Linked DNA regions of Homo sapiens: region 1 is linked to region 2. The links are contacts of gene promoters, found by promoter capture Hi-C in blood cells and fetal thymus (Javierre and others, 2016). All regions are on one chromosome and are shown on one strand. The core of a region is centred on a gene start or on the middle of the fragment in contact, and the rest is flanking DNA. Distances in the headings are between cores, read along the strand shown.

Region 1 (7,425 bases), core at 1,307-3,806, 1.1 Mb after region 2:
AACCCCGTCTCTACCAAAAATACAAAATTAGCCGGGAGTGGTGGCACATGCCTGTAATCCCAACTTCTCGGGAATCTGAGGCAGGAGAATCACTTGAACCCAGGAGGCGGAGGTGGCGGTGAGAGGAGATTTGCGCCATTGCACTCCAGCCTGGGCAACAAGATTGAAACTCCGTCTCAAAACAATAAATAATTTTTTTTTTGAGACGGAGTCTTGCTCTGTCGTCCAGGCTGGAGTGCAGTGGCCAGATCTTGGTTCACTGCAAGCTCCACCTCCCGGGATCACGCCATTCTCCTGCCTCAGCCTCTCGAGTAGCTGGGACTACAGGTGCCCACCACCACGCCCGGCTAATTTTTTTGCATTTTTAGTAGAGACGGGGTTTCACCGTGTTACCGAGGATGGTCTCGATCTCCTGACCTCGGGATCCGCCCGCCTCGGCCTCCCAAAGTGCTGGGATTACTGAGGTGAGCCACCGCGCCTGGCCTATATCTAAACTTCTTAAGCGCAAGGATTATATTCCTAAATCCTGGTACTAATAGAATGCCTTTCATGAAAATGATGCATACCACCTGAAGAATGCTCACACGGTTTTTCAAATTCTTTTATATACATTTGAATTTCACCACTACCCTGACAGGAATAATGACTCCAATTATCCTATTTTACAAAAGGGAAAAAAAATTCAGAGGCTGAGTAACTTGTCAAAGTTCTCAACTAATCTTGAAGATTTATTTACACTAATAAACATATATATAGCAAATTCAGAAAATTTCCTGAACAGTAGAGGTCTATAAACCTCGATAAAGCAGTAAATCCATGTTCTTTATTGTTACCAAGAAAACTACTAAATTAAGAACCTCAAGTTCACCTCCGTTCAACTGTGCAAAACCAACTTTGTCCTTGGAGCCCTTGAAAAAAAATTTTTTTTAAACTGTCAACACAGCAAATGTCACTACAAGAACACTACCCTCAACTTCTAAAACATGAAATTCTAATAAAATACTACGGTTTCTGTTTAGTGCAAAAGATTTCAGCTTCAAGCCACACTATTACAAAACTTGTAAGCATTTTGCAAGAGCCATGTGACACACATATGACAGTCAGCTAAACTGGTGGGTGGACCTTTTAGGGGAAAATGTCTAGCAGTAATTGACCAAACCAGCAAATAAACTCAACTTTTACAACAAATACTGATGTTCCCCCATCCCTCAAAGGCCTTTGACACTGAAAAGGAATACCAATTCGGTCTCTTCCAATTATTCATTACTTTACATGCATGTAAACTGTAGAGGAAATTTTTAAAGGGCCATTGAGGAGAGCCCAACAAACTCTACCCAAGGGAAGTGAACACCAGTTCCCAGGAAAGGTGCCAGGTGTGTCACATCTGCTGTGGTGACTTCTTGAGTAAGCAAGAAAAAGAAATGCATTAACTTTTCATGACACGTCATGGAACCTCATTCCCTATCTGCAAGCATCCAAGCAGGTAATCCAAAACCTACATACAGATCTATCATAGGTCCCGTTCGTTTCTCTTTCAACTTGACAGCAAGCTTCCTTTAATCTGCGAGTATCAAAAAGACATTTCTTGGCTTTAGTTTTTTTTTTTTCCCTTGACCCACAGAAGACAAAATGACTTAGGTGTCCTCTTTAAAAAAAAAAAAAACAAAATTCTCACAAATGCCCAGGTTTTTATAGGAGGGCAATGGACCCGGCGAGCTCTTAAACAACTCCTCCAAGACACAACTCAAAAAGAGAACTAATAAATGTTCAGTTGCTTCTCACCATCTACTCATTCCCCTCAATCCCACGCAGTCCCGAAAAGCATCCATATTACCTGAAACCTGGCGGGGAGGATGGAAGGAGAGAGAGCCAACAAGCTCAGGATTTACAAGTAAAGCTGGTTTCTACCCCGAAGATCCTGACAGCTCCGCAGAGTGCGGGCGCAGGGTCTGACAGTGCCCTCTAGAAGGGCTCTCCCACCCCATCCCCTCCCCTTAGAGACAAGTCCTCCTTCAAAAGTCACTGCCTCCGAGAGAAGATACCCCTTCACACCGCCCCAGGCCCCTCGGCAGGCTTCCTCAGCACCCGCCCCGCAGTCAGGCCCTCTAACCTGACCCGGTCCAGGCCCGGGCGGCTCACCCCTCCGGCCCGACCCCTCCCCCGCGCGGCCGCCCCTCCGCGTCAGACAATGGGGCCCGACTCCCGGCCGCCAGCCTCTCCTGACCCATCACCCTCGCCTCACCCCAGCCGATGCCCCGACTTCTGCCCCAACCCTCCTCGACCCCTTTAAGATCCCCCAAGCTGGCCCACGGACCCAGCCGACCGGTGCTCTCCTGAACTCACTATTCGGGATTCATGCTGGACATGTCACTGCAGCTGCCGCCGCCGCCACCGCCGCCCTTGCTGCCGCAGCCGCCGCCCTGACTCTCCGCGCCACGGGTAATCGAAAGAAAGGAATGAGATAGGCTGTTCCGGGAGAGCAAACGTCTTCCCCTACTCCGTCCCCTAGAACACAATCAGCAGCCGCCGCCACTCAGCTATCGCTTCCACCCAAAATGGCCGCCGGCGAACCAGGAAATAGGGAAGCCTTAGACCGAGGGGCCTTTACACGGCCCAGAGGGCGGCCGCACCGCCTGGCATGCCGGGAAAGGGAGTCGCGAGCGCGGCTACGCGAGCTGAGGACAGACAGTGCGACGCAAGGCCAGGACTCAGCTTCCCGCCAAGCGCCGCGCCTCTGGGGCATGCGTACCTGAAGGGTTGTCGCCCGCCCCATTCCCCACTCCCTCACCTCCCCACCCTCGGCCCCTCCCTGCTCCCCTCCCCTCTGACTCGCTGGCTAGGACTTCGCTCGGACTCCCCCTGGCGGATTGGCTAAGGCCGAGCTGCCCTAGTGATGTCATCAGTGAGACGTGGCAGCCGGGCGAGTCAGCGCCCCACGGGGGAGGGGGCGGAGAGGGGCGGAGGGTGGTGCCGGCGGCCGACGGAGGCTGGGGGTCGGGGGAGGCAAGGGACCGGGGGGAGTGGTCAAACCGGAGGGACTGCCGGGGGTGCGGGGGCGGGGAGGGGGCCGGGGTACGAGCGTGTCGGCTCCTGCCTCCGTTGCGGCTGTTGCTGACCTGACCAGCTTGAGGCTTGCGCCACCCTGGTGGCGCTGGTTGGGGGCTGGTAGGAGGACGTCCGCTCTAAGAACAGAAGGGAAGTCAAGGGGCTCCCTGGACGGCACGGAGCGGTTCTTCTCGTCACTCACCCATCCCCACCTGGGTTCGGTCATCGTCCATTGTTGGCCCCGCGCACTACCATTTTCTTCTTAGATTTCTTCCCATTCTTACTGTGCCCCGCTCTTAACTCGTCAGCCTGGCTATTGCAGTAGTCTCCAAATGGACTCTACCTCTCTCTCTCCTCTCCGCCCCAGCCCATTTGCACACACAGTCGGATGTATCTTTCTGAGACAGCACCTGCATCGTGACCCCACAACCTTCAATGGCTCCACATCCCATGGATGGGAGGGACACAGCCCAGAGCCAGCCTAAAATCCAATTCCTACCTTCGTCCCGGCCTTCAGGTTGAATTGTAATGTATTATCTTTTAGTTGCTACTAACCCTGAGCCATTCTGCAAGACTGGAAAATAATAAGCAATAAAAATAGGCAATTCATCACTATATAGTGCCTACAATTTCTGGGAGTAATATTAACTCATTTTTAAAAAACCTATGGCCTTAACAGCTCTCTTTAATCAGCTCAGGAATTTAAATCTCCGCTAAACTTTAACACATTATCTTGAGTTATTTAATTACAAAGGGCATAGTGTAATACATTGTCCAAAGTTTATCTTCCAACTTCTAAGAACTAAGAAAATTGTCTCCTGAGACTTACTGCAGAATCACTTTAAATTCCTACAACGCCAAAATATAGAAAGAAGGCACTTATTTCTACCCATACACTAATTACACCCCTTAGCCCTCAAATTCTGCCATGGGCCTTAGTTGATGAACTTATCAAAAGTTACCCGAGTTTGGTTTCTGAAATGAACATGTTGGTTTCTGAAATGAACACGGTCACCACCCCAGGAATACCCTGAATGGTTCAGTAATAGGCACCAAAAAGTGTTCGTTACCCTGGACTCTAAAGCCCATTAAAAAAAAAAAAAGCTTATTTTGATTTCAAATAAAAACTCAGAAAACTGGCCAGGCTCGGTGGCTCATGCCTGTAATCTCAGGAATTTGAGAGGCCAAAACGGACAGATCACGAGGTCAGGAATTCAAGACCAGCCTGGCCAACATGGTGAAACACTGTCTCTACTAAAAATACAAAAATTAGCCAGGCATGGTGGCGCGTGCCTGTAATCCCAGCTACTCGGGAGGCTGAGGCAGGAAAATTGCTTGAACCCGGGAGGCGGAGGCTACAGTGGGCCGAGAGGCCACTGCACTCCAGCCTGGGCGACAGAGCAAGATTCTGTCTTGAGGGGAGAAAAAAAATCTCAGAAAACTGTGACCTGAGTCACTAGTAAAGGCACACACACACACACACACACACACACACCCCCAAAAAACCCTCAGAAAACTGTCCAGAACTCGTCCTCAGCCAAAAATACAATCTGTCCTCCCCTGGGAAGTATACTCCCAAACTTCCTTTAATTAACTATTTTCTTTCCCAACAAAGAATTACCCCCTGCCAGGCGCAGTGGCTCACGCCTGTAATCCCAACACTTTGGGAGGCCAAGGCGGGCAGATTATGAGGTCAGGAGATCGAGACCATCCTGGCCAACATGGTGAAACCCCGTCTCTGCTAAAAATACAAAAATTAGCTGGGCGTGGTGGCGTGTGGCACGTGAGATTACAGAATCTCAGCTACTCGGGAGGCTGAGGCAGGAGAATGGCTTGAACCAGGGAGTCAGAGGTTGTAGTGAGCCGAGATCGCGCCACTGCACTCCAGCCTGGCAACAGAGCGAGACTCAGTCTCAACAACAACCACCAAAAAAAAAAAAATTACCTCCTAGTAGCTTTTAATCTAAGTGACAGGATAGCTGTAAGCGTTGAATAAACACAATGTAAAGCATATAGTACAATGGCTTTGGGACCCTTGGTAAATGTTAATTACTTTTCTCTGTAGGAGAGCAAAAAAATGACTTCCCTCCACCCTGCTAGGTTCCTTGGCTAGTTTATGAACTAAATTAACCTAAGACAGATTAACAGGAGAAAATCATATTTGATTAAGTACATATGCATGGGAGTTCCTCAAAATAAGAGACTCCAAGAAGGGTCTGATGATTGAAGCATCCTGAGCTACAGAAAAGAATACGGCTTGGTGGCCGGGTGCAGTAGCTCACGCCTCTAATCCCAGCACTTTGGGAGGCCAAGGCGGGTGGATCACGAGGTCAGGACATCAAGATCATCCTGGCTAACACGGTGAAACCCAGTCTCTACTAAAAATGCAAAAACAAAATTACCTGGGCGTGGTGGCGGCTGCCTGTAGTCCCAGCTACTCGGGAGGCTGAGACAGAAGAATGGCGTGAATCCGGGAGGCGGAGCTTGCAGTCAGCTGAGATGGCACCACTGCACTCCAGCCTGGGCTACAGAGCGAGAGTCCATCTCAAAAAAAAAAAAGAATAGGGCTTGGTGCCGGGCGCGGTGGCTTACGGCTTACGGCTGTGATCCCAGCTCTTTGAGAAGCCAAGGTGGGTGGATCACTAGAGGTCAAGAGTTCGAGACCAGCCTGGCCAACCTGGCGAAACCCTGTCTCTACTAAAAACACAAAAAATTGGGCAGGCACAGTGGCTCACGCCTGTAATCCCAGCACTTTGGGAGGCCAAGGCAGGTGGATCATTTGAGGAGTTCAAGACCAGCCTGACCAATATGGTGAAAACCCGTCTCTACTAAAAATACAAAAATCAGCTGGGCATGGTGGCACATACCTGTGATCCCAGCTGCTCGGGAGGCTGAGGCAGGAGAATCGCTTGAACCTGGGAGGCGGAGATTGCAGTGAGCCGAAACTGTGCCACAGCACTCCAGCCTGGGCAACAGAGCGAGACTCAATCTCAAAAAAAAAAAAATTGAAAAAATTAGCCAGGCATGGTGGCGGGTACCTGTAATCCTAGCTACTCAGGTAGCTGAGGCAGGAGAATATCTTCAACCCGGGAGGTAGAGGTTGCAGTAAACTGAGATCACACCACTGTACTCCAGCCTAGGTGACAGAGCAAGACTCCATCTCAAAAAAAAAAACAAAACTGGGGCTTGGGGCCTTCGGAGAGGTAATGATAAGCTACAGGAGGGCAAGAGGGGAAATGCATGGTAAAGAAAGATTGTCCTGCCATGCAGATAAAAAGTCTCTCAGGTAATAAAAGTTATCTTGAGGCAGCCCTCTCTCTGATATAGATACGTTACTAATGTAGATTTCCTTTGTAGACATAAACTTATTTTACAAAAGGACAGCTTTTCAGAGCTACTCCTGTGTCTACAGTTTCTTAGAATAACCAGCTCAAAATATGCCACCAAAGAAGAATATTTTAGGAGAGCATATTCTGGTCCCCCAGAGTGATATTTGAGGTGGTATGTCCTGGTCCCCAACATCTACTTCTCTCAGCTTCTCTGAAAGTCTTAAGTGTACCTGCTGTGTACCAAGGACAGAAAGCCTCATAGCTTAGCTTCCGTGTTGTAGAATATTATGCGAAGAGGTCAGAGGCAGCTTAGCCTGGGAATGGTAGGTGGGTGTTTTCTACCCCCACTGAAATTTATGTGCAATTACATTAAGACTTCCTTTCCAAATTTAAAGTGGCTAAAAATTAAACTTTTTAAAAGTTTTGCTGACTCAAACTTTAATATATATATTTTCGTGTGTGTTTTTTTGTTGTTGTTGTTGTTGTTGTTTTGAGATGGAGTCTCACTCTGTCTCCCAGGCTGGAGTGCAGTGGCACGATCTCAGCTCACTGCAACCTCCCCTCTCCCGGGTTCAAGCTGTTCCCTGGCTTCAACCTCCCGAGTGGCTAGGATTACAGGTGCGCACCACCACATCCAGCTAATTTATTGTATTTTTAGTAGAGACCAGACGGGCTTTCACCATGTTGGCCAGGCTGGTCTCGAACACCTGACCTCAGGTGGTCAGCCCGTCTCAGCCTTCCAAAGTGCTGGGATTACAGGCGTGAGCTCCTGCGCCCAGCTCAAATTTTAATATATATTTTATGTTTAGGTTTTTAGAAGTAGTTACATTTCTAGCTCAAGTGAATAACTCAGAATCTAATTCATTAAACTAGTGTGAGCCTTGTTGGCTGCCCTATTGTTGAATCAGAATTATCCTAGGGCTGTTTGTCCATTTGTTCATTAGCTTGCTTTTTTCTTTCTTTTTAAAAGTTTTTTCTTCCTTCCTTTTCCTTTTCCTCCCTCCTGCTTTTATCAAATGTTTATGACCTGACACATAGTAAATGTGTTTTG
Region 2 (7,625 bases), core at 1,619-4,118:
TTATGGTGATGGTTGCACAATTATTTAATCTAAAAACCACTGAATTGTATATTTTTTTTTTTTTTTTGAGATGGAGTCTCGTTCTGTCACCCAGCCTGTAGTGCAGTGGTGCTATCTTGGCTCACTGCAACCTCCACCTCCCAGGTTCAAGCGATTCGCCAGCCTCAGCCTCCCCAGTAGCTGGGATGACAGGCGCTCACCCCCATGCCCGGCTAATTTATATATTTTTAGTACAGACGGGGTTTCACCATGTTGGCTAGGCTGGTCTCGAACTCTGGACCTCAGGTGATCTACCTGACTAGGCTTCCCAAAGTGGTGGGATTACAGGTGTGAGCCACTGAACCCGGCCAAGTGGTACACCTTAAATGGGTGTATTTTATGGTATGTTAATTTTATCTCAATAAAGCAGTTTTTAAAAAGCAAAGAGCAGGAAAGAGGAATTGTAATTAACTTTTGTTGATTAAAAAAAAAAAAAAAAAAAAAAAGAGTGTGATGGGCCGGGGCCGGGGCGGTGGCTCACACCTCTAATCCCAGCACTCTGGGAGGCCGAGGCCGGTGGATCACAAGGTCAGGAGTTCAAGACCAGCCTGGCTAATATGGTGAAACCCCCGTCTCTACTAAAAATACAAAAATCAGCCAGGCGTGGGGGCGCCTGTAGTCCCAGCTACTCAGGAGACTGAGGCAGAAGAATCACTTGAAGCCGGTAGGCGGAGGTTGCGGTGAGCCAAGATAGCGCCACTGCACTCCAGCCTGGGCAACAGAGCAAGACCCCGTCTCAAAAAAAAAAAAAGAAAAGAAACAAAAAAAAAGAGTGTGATGAAGAAATTCTGCAAAATTTGCCGTTTCATGGGCTATATAGGAATTGACTTTAATTCTGACACAAAAAATTATCTTATCCAGAAATCAATTTTAACTTTCCAGAAAATATAAGCATATGCAAAAGTAATCACCTTTTCCTAGTAAACTTTTAGTATTAAATTCTAATTTCAAAAACACTTCAGAAAGCCAAATGCTGTAGTAACAATACTTCTACAAGAACAAAATATACGAATATCAACAACAAAACAGTCTTTACGATTTGGTTGTGATGCATTCTTTATTTTAAAAACCCATTAAAACATTTTTCATTTATTTAAAAAAGTGATCCTCAGACTGCCTCTTAGATTGGTAGTGTAATAATTCTTAAGTTATCAGAACATAATTTAAAAATAGCCAAATTACAATAAAATCGCAAACATCTACTGTCGTCCCAAACAACTATCAATTACAGCTACTGGTAACCTATCATAAGCAATGATGAGCACTACGAACCATCAACATCCATTTCTAGGAAATCCGATTCTGACTACACTACAAATACAGTCAAACAAATCCCATCATTCCCTCTGTTCCATCATTTAACTGCTTAGAAATCATTTAGGCTCTGAAGGTGCTTTTTCCAATTAGAACTCCCCTTCGGATTTATAAAAGTGAATGTACATCAAAATCTGCAGTTTAGGTTATCGCAGTAATATTTCTCGGTATACTACAAGTAATTTATCACGGTATTACTTAAAGGCGTTTAGTATTAAGACCGCCCTTGATTTGACAAATCAGAAATACAGCCAATTAAAAACAAAAACAGTCCAAACAATTTAATTCTTCGAAAGAGCCTCAATAAAGACCAAAAAATAAAGCTGGTTAGAAGAAAAAAATTTTTTTTTGAAACGCCTGTCAGTCAAAATGCTAAAAATACCATCTTGAACTCAACACATGAACAGACCAAACGGCTAATTATAATTGGCAAGCCAAAGTTCCCAAGTCAACGACGGGAGAGCAGAAACGGCAGAGAGGGCCTGCCCTTTCTGTCTATGCAGAGATGGAAGGAGGCAGAACTGAAGAAAATTATTGCACAAATTATTTCAAGCTACATTGCCAAAATGCAAAATACTGAGTAACTCTTTGGGTTAGCCTTCCCCGGAGAGAAAAACAAACAAATGTTTTAACGATTCCAGTAGAATCCAATAGGACTAAGGGCCTGGCTGGAAAAAGAAAAGGAAAGTTTGGGGGCAGCGTCTAAGGGGGTGATGGAAGTTCCAGAGCTGGGATCCCGGAAAGATAAGAGAGGGGCAAGAGCGGCGTTTGCGGTCGCTGACAGGAGGCAGGGAACACAGCTGCCAGCCCCGATCCCGGAGGGAGAGTGAAAAGGAAAAAAAAAAAAAAAAAAGGAAGTGGCGGAGAGGAGCATGGAAGCTTCAGTGCCGGTCAGCTGTGACCGAAACTCGGTCCGTTTGGGGCTGGGGAGGAGAGCCGAGGGGGTGGGGTCTCGGTCCCTCTCTCCGCTGTAGGTCGGGGTGAGAGTGGGCTGAGACGCGCGGGGGGCCGCGGGGCACACCTACCTGCGGGTCCCGGGGCAGCCGCCCTGAGCGAGGCCTAGTGCATCGCCGCCGCCTCCAGCCCTCCACGTCGCACCGAGGCTGCTGCTCCACGGCCGCCGCCGCCCGGCGCCCGGCCGGGCCCGAGCCCGGGTTCCCGCCCCCGCCCCGCGCCCGCTGGCCAGTCGGCCCGGGGAGCACAGGGCCGCCCTCTCGAGCCCAGCTTCACTCAGGGGTGAGAGGTGGCAGCGGCGGCTCCCTCACGTCTCTCCCGGGTGTCCTGTCAGCCAGCAGTTTCCCCCGGGTCCGCAGCGCCGCCTCCGCCGCTGCTGCCACCGCCTCTCCCACATCCCCGGCCTCCAGGGGAGCCGCCGCCGCCGCGCCACGACCACTGCCTCTAGCGCTTCTGCTCCCGACTCCACTGCTTTCCCTCACCCCGCCGGCCCAGCCGGCTCGGCCCGGTCGGGTGCGGGGAGACAGCGCCGGAGGCCGCCGCAGCCCCCAGCCCACAATCCACCGCGCGGCTCCGCCGGGGCGGGAGGGCCGCGGCCCGGGCCGGGGGGAGCGCCCGCCGCCTGGGGAAAGCGGCCTTGGCGCAGGCCGGCGTGCCCGTCGCAGGCGCAGCCAGAGTTCTCTCGGGGCGGGGAATACACCGCGTGGCTCCCCTGCGCCTCCTCTAATAGTCCTACACGCAGACAAATCCACGCTGAATTCCACTTTCCCCACCACCCTTCCCCCCAACTCCCAGTTTTCAGGAACACCCAGAAAACCTCCTGCCGCCTTCCCCGGGACTGGGACGCGACCCCTCCAGCGTAGCCCTCGCCACCCCCAAGACCAACCGACTCGAAACATCCCTAAATCACCCGGGACCTATTAAAGCAAATACTTCCACGAGATTCCTCCTCTCCCCCACCCCCTCGAAGTAAATGCTTTTCAGCTGTTCCCTAGTAAATGCCCTTCCAAAGGTTAAAGGTCACCCCTCCGCAACAACCCAGTTCTCTCTATTGAGGCCTTTTCCCCATCCAGTCCTCCCCTCCAAGTCTTCCCCAAGTTCCAGGCCTTCCTCCCAGACACTGTAATCAGTTATTCCTGTTACTTGACTGAGATACTTGGAGTGTGTATGATAATTAATACCTTCTAATTCTGACTTCAGCCTGGTTTCACAGGACTTGCAACTTTAAACCAATAAAACACAGTCCACAAGAAAGGGAAGGTCTTAGTATATAAATATAAAGACACACACACACACACACACACACATATATTTTAGGAAGAAAAAGATCCTCAATCCTTTGAGTGCTTGTGACTTAATTTTGGGAAGATTTTATTCAATGTTGAAATTCTTGCCTAAAAATAAATTTCAAGCATTTATAAGACATAGTATGTTTTAACAAATCAAAAGTGAAAATGTAACTCTTATAGTTGGGGGGTTGAAAAAAATGTTGATCCAAGTTTCACTTCTAAGAAGTCACTTTGAAAACTGCAAACATAACTTTTATGAAATAATATTTTCCCCACCAAAGAGCTAAAGTTGGGGAAAGAGGACAAAAAGTAAGGAAGCATCAAAAATAGTTGAGAGAAAACTCTTACATTATATTTTTCTAAGTTCAATCCTCTAAAATTATGTAAGAAACAAAGTGAGAAAATCATTCCCCAATATGAAATAAATTTAACTGTAAAAGAGTGAAGTCCTCTTAAATCCCTGATCACTTATAAAACCAGATGAGTTTACATAGAAGCAGAGTAGAATGGTGGTTACCAAAGACTGGGGGGTAAAGGGTGATGAGGAAAGGGGAAATGTGAGTCAAAGGGTATAAAGTTTCAGGTAGGAGGAATAAATTTTAGTGATCTATTGCACAGCACGATGACCACAGTTAATAACAATGTATTTAATATTCCAGAATAGCTAAAAGAGTACTTTCTTTGTTTTGTTTTGTTGAGACTGTGTCTGGCTCTGTTGCCCAGGCCAGAGTGCAGTGGCATGATCTTGGCTCACTGCAACCTCTGCCTCCCAGGTTGAAGCAATTCTCCTGCCTCAGCCTCCCGAGCCGCTGGGACTACAGGCGCGCACCACCACGCCCAGCTAATTTTTGTATTTTTAGTAGAGACGGGGTTTCACCATATTTGCCAGGCTGGTCTCCAAACTCTTGACCTCGTGATCCACCTGCCTCAGCCTCCCAAAGTGCTGGGATTACAGGCATGAGCCACCACGCCCAGCCAAGAGTACATTTTAAATGTTCTCACCATAAAAAAAATAAGCTGGGTACAGTGGCCCACACTTGTAGTCTCAGCTGAAGTGGAAGGATGCCTTGAAACTAGCAGTTTGAGTCCAGCCTGGACAACATAGCCAGACACCATCTCTTAAAAAAAAAAAAAAAAGTAGGTGAGGTGAAAGATATGTTAATTAGCTTGGTTTAGTTATTCCACAGTGTGTACATATATCAAAACATCACATTGGATCCTATAAATATATATAATTATTATTTGTCAGTTTAAAAATTTTTTATTAAAAAAGATGTGTTTATACTGTGAAAATATTAACAAGAGGATTAACCAAGTTTTATCTAAGGCCAGAAAGGAAAATAATTTTTCTTTATGTCTAGAATCAGTTCATAGATTATGCTAGGAATTGGATTTAGCAAATTCTTATATTTTGACCCCCCTCAGGAAGTCAACAACAGTTCAAAAACTTCCTTAAGCCTGGCTGGTTTGGCCTTTAAAAAAATATTTGTGTTTATACCCCACCTTGTTCCAGAAAAGATTCCAACTTGGCACTTGGACTAAATGATAGCCGTCAGTTGTCTCCCAGACACTAGAACAAGACAGTCTGGTTTGCTTCCTCATTATCCATCTGTTGATAACATACCATAGGAAGAAAATACACATTGAGTGTCGTGCTTAGTTCTTTCAGAGATCCAGCTCAATGTTTACTTTTACTTTTACTTTTCCACAGAACAATTCATAATCTTGAATCTAAACAGGAAAGTAAATGCTGATGATCAGGTTTGCAAAAATTTTTTTAAAGTGTGTAAACTGGGCAAGCAATTTCATTTAAACCTAGATAAATTTCAAATTAATTACTATGTTCACTTGCTATCACTTGAATCATTTCAGTCAGTATGAGAGCTAAAAGCCAAATCACAAATAAATAGGTATAGATATATTATTAGTGTACATTTCCAGAAAGCACAGATGATAGAAAATTAAGAAATTAATACAAAATTAAGAAATGGATAGGAGTTAAGATTCCATCATTGCCTTCAAAAAAAGGAATCAGGAAGAAAATATTTAGCTACCATGTCACTAACACTGTATTTGGCATATTTATTATATCTGTTACCGACCAATCACATGAAAAGTGATAGTCCATCAAGGTTATATGTTCTAATTAGAGGGAGAATGGCAAATTTTCTAATGCCATAACACCTATAAAAGGGCTATGTTTATGTTTACTGTGTATTCTGTGCATATTTGTATAGGTGGCAGTAGTAAGGTTAACATAGCTACTCAATCACTGAACACTGCCTTTCTTTTTTTTTTTTTTGAGATGGAGTCTTGCTCTGTCACCCAGGCTAGAGTGCAGTGGCACGATCTCGACTCACTGCAAGCTCCACCTCCCAGGTTCATACCATTCTCCTGCCTCAGCCTCCCAATATAGCTGGGACTACAGGCGCCCGCCTCCACGCCTGGCTAATTTTTTGTATTTTTAGTAGAGACGGGGTTTCACCGTGTTAGCCAGGATGGTCGTGATCTCCTGACCTCACGATCTGCCCGCCTCGGCCTCCCCAAGTGCTGGGATTACAGGCGTGAGCCACCATGTCCGGCCTGAACATTGCCTTTCTAATGATTTATTTGATAGAAACTATACATTCCCGTGCTATATAAATACAGAGGGGAAAGGGGGCACTGATAGAATGAACAATGAGAAAAATAATTTTCCAATTTAGTAAGATAGAAGCACTAGCTTCTTTTTTCTGTGATAGCAAACCTTGAATCTATGCAATGGAAACCCATCCACATTCTTAACCTACTCTACAGCTAAATATGTGTAATTATATTGTGTGTTTAGTATAAATAAGCTATCTTTGATAAGCAAGATTTACATGCACTAATGAACTGAAGGTGTCAAGCTGGTAATTGTTTCATTAGGGTTTGGATCCAATAATGTCCTGAATTATTTTATGCATCATATTTGAGCTATTCTTAAATGTTATATATATAAATATATAATTATATGTGTTTTTATAATTTAAAAAATTTTACAATTTTTGATACAGCTAATATATAGTATATAAAAATATAAATGATAATTTATAACAATATGACTCTAACCTGAAACTGTGTTTTGATATTTCTTCATAGGTAATATAGGACTATCTTAATGTAGGAAAACTTTCCAGTTTACTTTGAGTATGGTGTAAGATATTAAAGCTAAATGTAGATATAAGCACCACTAGAAAATTTATAATATTTTATGTGGTGATGATAATGTACTCAATACTTGTTGGGAGTAATATACAAGTCTTCAACATATCATCTTTTTGTCTTCTACACCAGCCGCTTGGTTACTTTGGAAGCAATTATTTAACTCTGTTAAATTTCTCTGTTAACTTTTTTCTTGACCTCGATATTTCAGATTTCCATTTTGATTATTATAATAATAGCAGCTGTAATCTACTAAGAATTTACTGCACCCCAAGCATAGGGAAAAACCAAGATACTATGGTATATTAGTTTTCTATTGGTATGTACAAATTATCGCCAATTTAGCAATTTAAAGCAACACACGTTTATTATGTCATGGTTTCTTGAGTCAGGAGTCTCAGCACAACTTAACTTTGCTTAAGGTTTCACAAGGCTGCAATCAAAGCATCCATCAGCCTGTATTGTCATCTGAAAGCTTGACTGAGGAAGAATCTGCTTCCAGTCTCCTTCAGGTTGTTGGCAGCATTTATTTTCTTGCATTTACAGACTGAGAGCCCTGGCTCCTTGCTGGCTCAAGGCTGCCCTCAGATTTTAGAGGCCACCTGCAGTTCCTCACCCTGTGGGTTTCCCTAACACAGCTGTTTACTTCATCAGCCAGTGAGGAGTGTCTTTAAAGTCTCTAAAGTGAATCTGCTAGCCAAATGGAGTGATATCCTAGCATATTTTCTAGGTTTATAGCAGGTCACAAGTTTCACTCACACTTGAGGAGAGGGGATTACAAAAAGTGTGAACAATCATGGTTGCCTTTGATGGTAGCAATCATGAAGGGCTACCCTCGAGCCTATA

What was found. Contacts are between HindIII fragments. The CHiCAGO score rates a contact against its expected background, and 5 or more counts as called.
Region 1: the fragment with the promoter of RAB1A here is called in contact with the fragment with the promoter of VPS54 in region 2 in 6 of 17 cell types (non-activated CD4 T cells, total B cells, total CD4 T cells and 3 more); the score reaches 7.9 in non-activated CD4 T cells.

The regions. Positions count from the first base shown.
Region 1 is chr2:65,127,550-65,134,974 of GRCh38, forward strand. RAB1A (RAB1A, member RAS oncogene family) reads right to left here and starts at 2,557. Exons shown (of 6, transcript NM_004161.5): 1 at 2,344-2,557. The coding sequence starts at 2,366. RefSeq lists enhancers at 1-301, 1,825-2,339, 2,336-2,595, 2,340-2,853 and silencers at 2,156-2,205, 2,706-3,055. The HindIII fragment of the contact is 2,599 bases long and covers 1,549-4,147 here.
Region 2 is chr2:64,016,560-64,024,184 of GRCh38, forward strand. VPS54 (VPS54 subunit of GARP complex) reads right to left here and starts at 2,869. Exons shown (of 23, transcript NM_016516.3): 1 at 2,379-2,869. RefSeq lists an enhancer at 2,053-2,122 and a silencer at 2,283-2,992. The HindIII fragment of the contact is 5,022 bases long and covers 2,231-7,252 here.